Regions from separate parts of the Homo sapiens genome. Here all the other regions are linked to region 3. Evidence: promoter capture Hi-C in human tissues and cell types (Jung and others, 2019). All regions are on one chromosome and are shown on one strand. The core of a region is centred on a gene start or on the middle of the fragment in contact, and the rest is flanking DNA. Distances in the headings are between cores, read along the strand shown.

Evidence for each region. The method cuts DNA at HindIII sites, captures the fragments that hold promoters and counts their contacts. A contact is called where the count stands out against the background at its distance.
Region 1: a fragment that was not itself captured here is called in contact with the fragment with the promoter of UBXN7 in region 3 in 8 of the 25 tissues and cell types used here (H1 embryonic stem cells, IMR-90 fibroblasts, bladder and 5 more).
Region 2: a contact is called between a fragment that was not itself captured here and the fragment with the promoter of UBXN7 in region 3, in 1 of the 25 tissues and cell types used here (IMR-90 fibroblasts).
Region 4: a fragment that was not itself captured here is called in contact with the fragment with the promoter of UBXN7 in region 3 in 1 of the 25 tissues and cell types used here (aorta).

The regions. Positions count from the first base shown.
Region 1 is chr3:196,270,141-196,273,091 of GRCh38, reverse strand. It overlaps PCYT1A (phosphate cytidylyltransferase 1A, choline), which reads left to right. Exons shown (of 9, transcript NM_001312673.2): 2 at 2,551-2,677. The coding sequence starts at 2,561. Among named protein-coding and RNA genes, the nearest start is that of PCYT1A, 16 kb to the left of the region's middle. RefSeq lists an enhancer at 1-8. The HindIII fragment of the contact is 3,023 bases long and covers 162-2,951 here.
Region 2 is chr3:196,561,563-196,564,636 of GRCh38, reverse strand. The region is part of intron 2 of WDR53 (WD repeat domain 53); the gene reads left to right. Among named protein-coding and RNA genes, the nearest start is that of WDR53, 5.5 kb to the left of the region's middle. RefSeq lists an enhancer at 312-1,511. The HindIII fragment of the contact is 7,147 bases long and covers 1-3,074 here.
Region 3 is chr3:196,430,954-196,434,141 of GRCh38, reverse strand. It overlaps UBXN7 (UBX domain protein 7), which reads left to right and starts at 1,715. Exons shown (of 11, transcript NM_015562.2): 1 at 1,715-1,815. The coding sequence starts at 1,743. It overlaps UBXN7-AS1 (UBXN7 antisense RNA 1), which reads right to left and starts at 2,757. Exons shown (of 2, transcript NR_046745.1): 1 at 2,701-2,757; 2 at 1,108-1,940. RefSeq lists enhancers at 1,398-1,477, 1,410-2,183, 2,558-2,607, 2,184-2,958 and silencers at 1,518-1,767, 1,788-1,847. The HindIII fragment of the contact is 10,299 bases long and covers 315-3,188 here.
Region 4 is chr3:196,604,567-196,607,493 of GRCh38, reverse strand. No RefSeq gene overlaps it. Among named protein-coding and RNA genes, the nearest start is that of LINC01063, 27 kb to the left of the region's middle. The HindIII fragment of the contact is 4,213 bases long and covers 1-2,927 here.

The sequences.
Region 1 (2,951 bases), core at 424-2,923, 160 kb after region 3:
TCGAGCTGCTCACCCCCTGGCAGCTGGCGTGCCTGGCTGTGCGCAGTGGCCGGACCCTGTGCTGGCTCGCCTGTGCACCTCTTGCCGCTCCGTGCCTGGCTTGTCCTTGGCATGCATGGAATCTGTGCTGGTAACACAAGCTGAGCATAGCCTACCAGGCTGAGTGGACGGAACGAGCCCGGCGGGCCTGAGCAAAACTCAGGCAAAGGTGCCACTGGCCACAGAGGTTTCTGGCTAGCGAAGTGACACCCCAAGTATTCTGTGACTTAAACATGAAATACAGAATATTCAGAACTTTGCTGTAATAGCTAGTTGCTAGAAACTCTCTGCTAAATGAGACAATAATAAATAAGTTCCTTTGGGGGAAGGAGAATCCCTGAGGGGGTTTTAATAGCTGGAAACTGTGAACAAGCTTGAGGTGTTAAGACCCTGAAAGAGGAAAGGGAAATGAGTACTGAGAAAAGAAGGGGAAGGGCCAGGTGCAGTGGTTCACACCTGTAATTCCAGCACTTTGGGAGGTCGAGGTGGGTGGATCACCTGAGGTCAGGAGTTCAAGACCAGCCTGGCCAACATGACAAAACCCTGTCTCTACTAAAAATACAAAAATTGGCTAGGCGCCATGGCTCACGCCTGTAATTTCAGCACTTTTGGAGGACGAGGCAGGTGGATCACGAGGTCAGGTGTTCGAGACCAGCCTGGCCAACATAGGGAAACCCTGTCTCTACTAAAAATACAAAAAATTAGCCAGGCGTGGTGGTGGGTGCCTGTAATCCCACCTACTCAGGAGGCTGAGGCAGGAGAATCGCTTGAACCTGGGAGGCGGAGGTTGTAGTGAGCCGAGATGGTGCCACTGCACTCTAGCCAGGGTGACGGAGTGAGACTCTTTCTCAAAAAAAAAAAAAAGGAAAGAAGGAGAAGGACATTTAAAAAATACATTATGCTGGTCCTAGCTATTCTGGAGGCTCAGATGGGAGGATTGCTTAAGCTCAGGAGTTTGAGGCTACAGTGTGCTATGATTATGGCTGTGAGAGCCGAGATCGTGCCACTGCACTCTAGCCAGGGTGACAGAGTGAGACTCTTTCTCAAAAAAAAAAAAAAGGAAAGAAGGAGAAGGACATTTAAAAAATACATTATGCTGGTCCTAGCTATTCTGGAGGCTCAGATGGGAGGATTGCTTAAGCTCAGGAGTTTGAGGCTACAGTGTGCTATGATTATGGCTGTGAGAGCCGAGATCGTGCCACTGCACTCTAGCCAGGGTGACAGAGTGAGACTCTTTCTCAAAAAAAAAAAAAAGGAAAGAAGGAGAAGGACATTTAAAAAATACATTATGCTGGTCCTAGCTATTCTGGAGGCTCAGATGGGAGGATTGCTTAAGCTCAGGAGTTTGAGGCTACAGTGTGCTATGATTATGGCTGTGAGAGCCGAGATCGTGCCACTGCACTCTAGCCAGGGTGACACAGTGAGACTCTTTCTCAAAAAAAAAAAAAGGAAAGAAGGAGAAGGACATTTAAAAAATACATTATGCTGGTCCTAGCTATTCTGGAGGCTCAGATGGGAGGATTGCTTAAGCTCAGGAGTTTGAGGCTACAGTGTGCTATGATTATGGCTGTGAGTAGCCACTGCGCTCCAGCCTGGACAACCTAGCAAGACCCCTAAAAAAATAAAAACAATAAAAAAGTAAATAAAAACCATTATGCTACTCCACAATTTTCATGCAAGTAACTCTGGTGAAGTGGTCACTGAAATCTATAGAACTTTTAGAGTTAAGAAATTCACTCAGTGATGTGGTTCATGCCTGTCATCCCAAGTCTTTGGGAGTTTGAGTTGGGAGGATCACTTGAGGCCAGGAATTCAAGACCAGCCTGGGCAACATAGCGAGGCCTGTCTCTTAAAAAAAAAAATAACTAGGTGTGGTGGCATGTGCCTGTAGTCCCAACTACTTGGGAGGCTGGGGCAAGAGGATCGCTTGAGCTAACGAGGTTGAAGCTGCAGTGAGGCAAGATCATACCACTGCACCCCAGCCTGGGCAACAGAGTGAGACCCCGTCTTAAAAAAAATTAGAGTTAAGAAATCCGTGTTTTGTTAATCCAGGACTTGGTGAGAGCCATCCGTTTACAAAAGGCTCTTTTCTCTACCTGCACCAGTCATACCTTCACATTGCCTTATACCTGTCATATCGATGATGCGGAGGATAGTGGGAGAGTCTGTGTAACTATCTTTCTCAGCCAAATTATTCCAATCTTTTGCATGCAATCAGGATTTAAAATGAGCAGTTAGTATGTAGGCTGCACTGTGAGGGGGAATGACTTCCGACTTCAGGCAATTCACTGTGGCCATTGTTGCACAGAGAGGCGTTTCAGTATTTCTACTAGAGCCTGTGTTTTGTGAAGCTTCGCTGGTTTTGCCAGATGCCATTGGCTCATCTTGGTGAAGTGCAGCTGTAGAATTGGTATTTTGCTGAGTGTATCCACGTCAACGTCTCTGAAATACTGGTGACAAACTTTTTCCCACCCCAATGAGAAAATTTTTGTTTTCACTTTCTATGACCAGTTAAAAGAAGATGGATGCACAGTGTTCAGCCAAGGTCAATGCAAGGAAGAGGAGAAAAGAGGCGCCCGGACCCAACGGGGCAACAGAAGAAGATGGGGTTCCTTCCAAAGTGCAGCGCTGTGCAGTGGTAAGTGGAGATTAACCTGGCAGGGGGAGGGTAGAAACCGATATGACATTGATGATATCAGTGTTACATGTCTTCTGAAATAATGAAAAGAAGGAATAGTAAGTGTATTTTCACAGTCACTGGAAATCTGCTGCCTTTTTACTGGATTATGACTCACAGCTCAGTTGTAGAAGCTTTACATTGGGTTTAGAAAAAGAAGTGTTAGGAAAATATGGAAGTTGCATGTGTATTAGGCTGAAACTATTGAAATATGGCCAGGTGCGGTGACTCATAC
Region 2 (3,074 bases), core at 253-2,752, 130 kb before region 3:
GATGCCAGCACTTTGAGAGGCTGAGACGGGAGGATCACTTGAGCCCAGGAGTTCAAGAACAGCCTGGGGAATGTGGGGAAACCTCATCTCTACAAAAAAAATACAAAAAATTAGGTGGGTTTGGTGGTGAGAGCCTGTAGTTCCAGCTACTCAGGAGGCTAAGGCGGGAGGATCACTTGAGCCTGGGGAGGTCAAGGCCTGCATGACAGAGCAAGACCCTGTCTCAAAAAAAAAAAAAAAAGAAAAAAGAAAAAAAATTGAAATCGTTAAACAAAATTATTTGTAACTTAAATTGACTTTTCAATACTCAATTCAAATTTGTAGGATAGCATCTTTATCATGAGGTAAGTCAGTATTACAGTTCCTAAGCCTAAATACTATCAGTGCCTTTCGTTTAAAATCTAGGTTTATCTGGAACTTTTGGCAACAGTCTTCGTTACGGCATATTTACCTGCTGCTGTTTCAGTACTTGTCAGCAAAAATCAAACCACCAGGGCTCCCTGTTTTTACCTCCCTCTGAGTCATTTCCTCTCCAATTCTCTCCTTTAAATATTATTGCTTCAGTCTCCAGTTAGTTTCCTCTGTATATTAGTTGAGTGCTTCTGCTTGAAAACAAAAGTTTAATTTTGTTTTTTATTTTGTTATTTTTATGAACATTTCTGTATTTGATTTTGTGATCACGTTTCCGTTACCTTGATTACTAATAGATCAGTGATTTTTTTGCAGTCTAATTAGTGATCGTATGTGTGACTAAAAGTAGGGGGAGGCTGGGTGCGGTGACGCACGCCTATAATCCCAGCACTTTGGGAGGCTGAAGTGGGTGGATCATGTAAGGTCAGAAGTTCAAGACCAGCCTGGCCAACATGGTGAAACCCTGTCTCTACTAAAAATGGAAAAGTTAGCCTGGCGTGGTGGCAGGCGTCTATAATCTCAGCTACTTGGGAGGCTGAGGCAGGAGAATCGCTTAAACATAGGAGGCAGAGGTTGCAGAGAGCTGAGATTGTGCCATTGCACTCCAACCTGGGCGACAGAGCAAGACTCCGTCTCAAAAAAAAAAAAAAGCTTTGTGTTGGGAATGGAAACTTTGGGCAGATTGCCAGATTATTTTAAATGATTTTATCTCTGTACCACTGGGCTAAATTCAAGTATCTTATCTGAAAATAGCACAACAGCTCTGGGGGCTGGCACTCGGGTAAGCTCTCCTTTCGCTTATGAAATGAAAAATTAAATTTGTCCAGGTAGATTTATTTGCTTCCTTTTGTCTTGACCAAGATTAGAGTTGTATAAATTGCCCTGATTTCCTTTTTGCCTTGACCAGCAGGCGGGCACGGCAGGCCGGTATTATGTGGCATTTCCAGTGTGTGTATATCTGGGATTCCTAGAGGATGAGAAATCTAAATTTTACACTGTTGTGTAAGTGCAGGTAGATGATAATATGATTAAACATATGTGAGTACATTTTCAAGCACTGATGACTTACTAGTAACTTTTGGTCATTTTCTGTTTCTTCAAAGAATAATAACAAAACTGTTGTCAGGTGGAGTTGTTAGAAAAGGACCTTCATTATTTAAATATTTGGAGCCTGGGCAACATAGGGAGACCCCGACTTTGCAAAAAAAAATTTAATAAAATAAAAATTAGCCAGGCATGGTGGTGCACATAAGTGGTCTGAGCTACTCAGGAGACTGAGGTGGGAGGATTGCTTAGGCCTGGGAGGTCAAGGCTGCAGTGAGCCACGATTGTGCCACTGCACTGCAGCCTGGGTGACAGAGCAAAACCCTGTCTCAAAACAAAAACAAAACATTTGGGATCTGTTACAAATCCTAAGAGTCAAGTGACCTTGGGAAAATTATTTAACATTTCTGAGACTCGGTTTTATTATCCCTAAAATGGAATAATACCAATCAAAAGGGTTGTTTTGAGATAAAATTAGATAACCTACTGAATAAGTGTCTGGTGGGGAGACCAAGGGCCTGCCATTTTCACCATTTCCCCAGGTGGTCATTAGTTTAATACAGATTCTGCAATTCCACTGTACATCAGGATCACCTGGAGGACTTACTAAAACACATTGCAGCCGGGCGTGGTGGCTCACGCTTATAATCCCAGCACTTTGGGAGGCCAAGGTGGGTGGATCACCTGAGGTCAGGAGTTTGAGACCAGCCTGGCCAACATGGTGAAACCCCGTCTCTACTAAAAATACAAAAATTAGCCAGGCATGGTGCCGGGTGCCTGTTATCTCAGCTACTCGGGAGGCTGAGGCAGGAAAATTGCTGGAACCCGGGAGGCGGAGGTTGCAGTGAGCCGAGATCATCCATTGCAGTCCAGCCCGGGCTAACGGCAGCGAGACTCCATCTCAGAAAACAAAACAAAACAACAACAACAAAAACACACTGCTTGGTCTCACCCCCATTTTCAGATTCAGTAGATCTAGGGTTGGGTCTGACAATTTGCATTTCTGACAAGTTCCTAGGGGATGCTGATGCTGCTAGTGTGGAGACCACACTTTGAGAGTACTGGTGCAGTGTATGTAATGCCGCTTTGCACCGGCCTAATAAAAATCGAAAAAGTAACAATAGCAATGCTTGTTGAGGATTCATTATGTATCAGGCACTATTATGTGTGATTTACATATATTATGATCCTATGAAATGAGTGTCATTATTATCCTCATTTTATAGAGAAGAAAAGTGGGTGACAGGTTCAGTAATTTGCCCAGTCCCCTAGCTACTGCAAACCTGGAGAGCCTAGCTGCAGAGCTCACCATCTAAAACATTATTCAGATAAGAGGCATAACCTGATGATTTTGCAGCCCTCTCTTTAAAATAATTTTTCTTAATTTAAAATATGTAGTGTTTATTCTTCTGTGGGTTCCATATGAAAGACTGGAGGACTGGCCTTACCTAGATCCCTGATGGCAAAGGAAGCCCACTGAAGTATTTGCCAGCCAGGATACAACCCTGTGTTCAGCTAGGCTTTTGGAGATGTGATCTTTAAGTGTCTTTTTTTTTTTTAATTAATTGAGTTTTTTTAAGATGTATTTTTAAAACATTTTAAAAGATGAAATATTGTTT
Region 3 (3,188 bases), core at 466-2,965:
TTGTATTTTTAGTAGAGATGGGGTTTCGCCATGTTGACCAGGCTGGTCTGGAACTCCTGACCTCGGGCGATCCGCCCGCCTCGGCCTCCCAAAGTGCTGGGATTACTGGAGTCTGCTTTCTTTTACATCAATCATATCTTCTTGAAACTACAGCCCGACTGGGTGTGGTGGCTCACGCCTGTAATCCCAACACTTTGGGAGGCCGAGGCGGGTGGATCACTTGAGGTCAGTAGTTTGAGACTAGCCTGCTCAACATGGTGAAACCTCGTCTCTATTAAAAATACAAAAATTAGCCAGGCGTGGTGGCGTGTGCCTGTAATCCCAGCTACTTGGGAGGCTGAGGCAGGAGAATCGCTTGAACCCGGGAGGCGGAGCTTTCAGTAAACTGAGATTGCACCACTGCACTCCAGCCTGGGCGACAGAGCGAGACTCCCTGTCAAACAAAACAAAACAAAAAACTATACCCCTTGATTTGACATGGCTCTTTCTTAATTCTCCCCAATAGCATGTTTACTCTTAGGATGTGTCAATTCTTCAGACAGCTCATCCCATCTTTTATTGGGCCATTTTCCTATGAAGATGCAAAATATGTGGGTGGAGGTTGGAAGGTGGGAGGCTAAAACAAACGGAATCACTTGGAATCTCTTTTAACTTTATGGGCAAGGTGGGGGATTATTGGATTTGAGCGCACCCCACTCATGTAACTGTTTTGCAAAATACTTAAAATTATTCAAGGAACACACGAATATCTTTTTTTTTTTTTTTTTTTTGAGATGGATTCTTGATATATTTCCCAGTCTGGTCTCGAACTCCTTGCCTCAAGCGATTCTCCCACCTCGGCCTTCCAAAGTGCTGGGATTACAGTCATGAGCCACCGCGCCCGGCCAATAATGTTTGTTTAAAAATAAAAAGATAAATAAGAAACTCGAAGTAAGGTCCGCTTTGACCATCGTCCCGATCGTTCTCTTCTCTGGAGGTAACCGTTACCAGCGTTTTGAGCACACTTTTCCAGTCTCCTTTCTATATGTTTTCTTTCCTCTACTGCATATACAGAGTTTCTTTTTATACAAATGACGCCTCTTGGGGTCTCATTAAGACCCTAACGGGAGACGTGATGGCCAATTTATTTAAGGAAAGCAGACTAAACAATCGTTTATGAAAACCTACTGGGTGGCAACCCCGCGCTAAGTGCTTTCTTTGGCATGAAGGGTTCTGGTATTTCACTCGTCGCAATCGGTTAGCTAAGCCATTAGTTTAGAGGCTGGGGGGCGAGTACGGGGAGAGTCGCTTCAAAGCGAGGAGGTAGGGTTTGCATTTTGATGGGACCTGCAGGAAACCTAATAGAGTGCGGTACAACCGCAAAACAGAAAAATGCTGTCATCGGCAGTTGGCTCTGTCAATAAAGCTTGCGAAGCTGAAATGCGAAGAACTATCTGCCGAGACCGAAGCTTCCTTCGGAATCTAGGAATCGACACCGCGCCTGCGAGGCTAGCCTTGGAGCCCGGAGAGGAAGGCACCAGCAATGGCAAAAAGGATGCACTGAGCAGGCAGCAACCGAGCAGCCAACCCGAGAGCTGGGAGCGCGCGGGCCCGGTCGGAAAATGCGCCTGCGCAGACCGCTGGGGACGGGAGGGGCGGGGCTCGAGGGGCGGTCAATGCGCCTGCGCACACCGCACGGCGAAGTGGGGGAGGGCAGTCCGTGTGTGTCTGTGTTGTTGTTCGGCGGCGGCGGCGGCGGTAAGATGGCTGCCCACGGGGGCTCCGCGGCGTCCTCGGCGCTGAAGGGGTTAATTCAACAGTTCACCACCATTACCGGTAAGAGACGCGGTTACCGGAAGGTGGAGAGTGGGGTCCGGAGCGGGCAGCGGGTCTGCCCCGGGCTTCCCCTTACCTTCAGGCATTCCTCCTTCGGGCTTTACCCACAGCTGCCGTCCTCCCTCCTGAGGAAGAGGCGACGACGGCGTCGGGGTCTCCGGGTTCAGGCGGGAGACAGCCCCCCCCCGCTCCCGATACCCTCGTTCTCTGTCTCCTAGTAGCGTGGAGGGAGATCCCCCAACCCCCCGCCAGCCCAGACCTGGGAATGGGCCGAGTCCGTCCGCCCCCGCCGGCCCGGGGACCCGGGGGCGGGAGGAGTAGGGGGCCGCACCCGGGCCACCGCCCTCCTCCTCCTCCTTCATCATCTTCCCTTCTCTGTGCAGCCCTGCGGTGCGGTGCATCTCCTCACCTCCTTTTTTCCTTTCTTCCCCGGCCAGGTCATTCTGCCCCGGTCCCCGGCCTGCCCTTCCCCTTTCTGGGCCCCTCGGAGCCATCGCCGTGGCCCTGGCGGGTTCGGGCCCTCCCGCCTTCACGGCAAGGCCGGTGGGTTCGGCCGTGCCTTTACACTTCACGGGGGACAGGCCGCCAGAAGCGGGGGGTGCTGAGGAGGACCTCAGGGACTGAGGCTTTGAGGGAAGAATGAGGGGGAACCCCCAAGCTGAATAGGGGAGGCCTGGAAGAATCCAGGGTGGCGTTTCCCACCTCCCCATAATAAAATCATAAAGACGGAGACGATGGCGCCGGGGCCTCCTGCTGATAAGATAGGGATGGCGGCAGAAACTTCTTTGAGAGAAAATCTGTTTCTGGGTGTCGGTATCCCCGAAACCCTAGGCCTAGGTTCTCTCCCTTTGGACCCCTGCGAAGGACACACGCAGATCCTCTTACCGCCTGGAGGAAAGGCCCTAAAGCCATTCTATGAATTCTCTCTGTCTTGTTTCTCTCTGATGGTGCTGAACTTTTCTTGCATGAGTTATTAGAGGGCGGAGCAAATGATGAAGTTCTCTGTGGAGTGATTTGAGAGAAGAGTACTCCAATGTGCCTGAGTGTAATTTTGCCGTTCTAGTTTGTCGTTTTGGAAGGAGGTCAGAATGTTAGTTCCCTCTCAACGGATCTATACTTTATCTCGTAATTTGTTAGATGCGGAGAATGTTTCCACTGTTAATGTTCCTAGAGTTTAACGTGCAATATCTGGTTAAGTAAAATTTTATATTGTTTTAACTACTACAGGTTGTATACTAGTTACCGTTTTATATTAAAGCAAGTTTTATTTTTTTGCTTTGCAATGATAACGAGATATTTGACGCATTGTTATCTAGCTTGTGGGCATGGAACATCAGGTCAAAGTAAAGTAAAATTTGCAATAAAATTGGGGT
Region 4 (2,927 bases), core at 398-2,897, 170 kb before region 3:
AACCCTATCTTTTTATTGGATCTTCAAAGACAATATTGAATGACATAAAAGATGATGAAGATATGCTACAGTCATGGATGAGAATGCATTTCATCATAAAGATACCAATTCTTCCCAAGTCTATTGATTCAACATGCATATTGATTTATATTTTCAATTTTCAATAAAAATCCCAACAGAACTTCCAGGTGACTTCACAAGGTACGTTCTAAAATCTATATAGAAGAGTAAAGGGCCAAGAATAACCAAAACAATTTTTTAAAACCAAAAGTTTGAGGGAATTGCTCTTTCAAAATGAAGACTGGGGCTGGGCACCCTGGCTTATGCTTGTAATCCCAGCACTTTGGGAGGCCAAGGCAGGCGGATTGCGTGAGCCCAGGAGTTCAAGACCACCCTGGGCAATGTGGTGAAACCCTGTCTGTACAAAAAAATGCAAAAAAATTAGCCAGCATAGTGGTGTGTGCATGTAGTCCCAGCTACTTGGGAGGCTGAGGTGGGAGGATCACTTGAGCCAAGGAGTTCAAGATCAGGAGTTGGGCCCAGGAGACAGAGGCTGCGGTGAGCCGTGATCACAGGGCTCATGCCTGTAATCCCAGCCTACGATCCCAGGAAGATCACTTGAGATCTGGAATACGAGCTCAGCCTTGGCAACATAGTGAGACTCCAGCCCTAGAAAAAAGCTTATTTAAAACATTATAAAAGATCTATAAAAAGGATTGACCAGGTGTCATGGTGCACACCTGAAGTCCCAGCTACTAGGGAGGCTGAGATGGGAGGATTTCTTGAGCCCAAGAGTTCAAGGGTACAGTGAGCTATGGCCATGCCACTGTACCACAGCCTGGGTGACAGACCAAGACCGTGACTCTAAAACAAAACAAAAACCCTAAGATTGATTATAAAGTGAGAACAACTAAGAGTGTATAGTACTAGCCTATGTGTAGACAAAGAGGCCAAAAGAATCAGACAGTCCAGGAGCTGGCCCATGTATATGTACATATGGAAACTTGATATGTGACAGAGGAGGCACTGTAAATCAATGGAAGCATAAGCTATTCAATAAATAGGAGCAGGATACAATATTAACAGTATGTATTTAATAATGAAATTTCTACTTTCTCCATAACAAAAATAAATTCTAGATAGATTAAAAACCTATATTAAAAATGTTTTAAAGACTATTTCTCCTTTTGTTTTACAGATATGGACAGAAGCCTCAAAATACCTTTTATGCCTTTCATGGCCCATGATGCAAACTTGTCACGATGTTGTCAACTAATACAAGCCCTGGGTCGGAAAGCCTGTTTAATAAATCGCCAGGGCCAGAGGTGTAATGCAGAGGGATAAACAAGTTTGTTAAGTGGATGACCCTTGTGAGTCTTTTTTCAGGTAACCTAGCAATAAGCTGGCTCTTCAGGGAGGGCCACAAACCCCCTCATGTATAAACTGTCTGGATTATTGGGTTGTTTCTAACATTATTTCTTAGGCCAGAAAGGCTGAAACCTGAATTGCAAAGACACCTTGGTCAGATGATCTCTGATTCCTCCATAATTCTTTTTTTTTTTTTTGGAGACAGAGTCTTGCTCTGTTGCCCAGGCTGGAGTGCATTGGTGTGATCTCGGCTCACTGCGAGCTCTGCCTCCCAGGTACAAGCAGTTCTCCTGCCTCAGCCTCCCGAGTGGCTGGGATTACAGGTGCCCACCACCACGCATGAATAATTTTTGTATTTTTAGTAGAGACGGGGTTTCACCATGTTGGCCAGACTGGTCTTGAACTCCTGACTTCAGGTGATCCACCTGCCTCAGCCTCCCAAAGTGTTGGGATTACAGGCGTGAGCCACGGCGCCTGCCCTCCATAATACTTTATAAATGCGTGAGACAACAAGGAATTTTATATTCCCTCTCTTGTACAGAACACATGATGTGTCCAGCTATGCCTAGCCTAAGCACTCTTCCCCATGAAATGGTGAGAATCTTGGGCACTATATGCATCCCCTCACACCTGCAGGTTGAAACATACCTGTACCATGTGTTATTTTTGCTGCTTGCCCTCGTCCCTTGCTTGATAAACAGAAATATTGATGGTGATGAACAATGAGGCAATATCTAACAAAGGCGGAGATGAGCATAAGCCAGAACTTGAGAATGCCGCTTCTCATAATGTATATTCTAGAGACTAGAGCACATACATACAGAATTCATTCCAGCTTTGTTTGTAATCACAAATTGGAAACAACCTAAATGGTCGTGAACAGAAGAATTGATAGACGGTAGTATGTTGGTGAAATGGAATACTGTACGGCAGCGGTCCCCAACCTTTCTGGCACTAGGGACCCGTTTCCTGGAAGACCATTTTTTCATGGACTGGGGGTGGGGGATGGTTTGGGATGATTCAAGTGCATCACATTTATTGTGCACTTTATTTCTATTATTATTACGTTGTAAGATATAATGAAATAATTATACAACTCAGCATAATGTAGAATCAGTGGAGCCCTGCACTTGTTTTCCTGCAACTAGACGGTTCCATCTGGGGATGATGGGAAACACTGATGGATCATCAGGCATTAGATTCTCATAGGGAGCATGCAGCCTAGATCCCTCATATGCTCAGTTCACAATAGGGTTCACATAGCTATGAGTATCTAGTGCCGGCGCTGATCGGACAGGAGGCGGAGCTCAAGCAGTAATGCGAGTGATGGGGAGCGGCTGTCAATACAGATGAAGCTTCACTTGCTCACCCGCCTGCTGCTCCCCTCCTGCCGTGTGACGCAGTTTCCTAACAGGCTGTGCACCTGTGCTGGGGTTTGGGGACCTCTGCTGTACAGCAATTAAAAAAGAAGTAACAGTTCTATGTTTAGGAATGGATAAATCACAAGAACACGAAGTTGCAGGAGGACATAAACGGTTCGTGGCACACACGCATGTGTA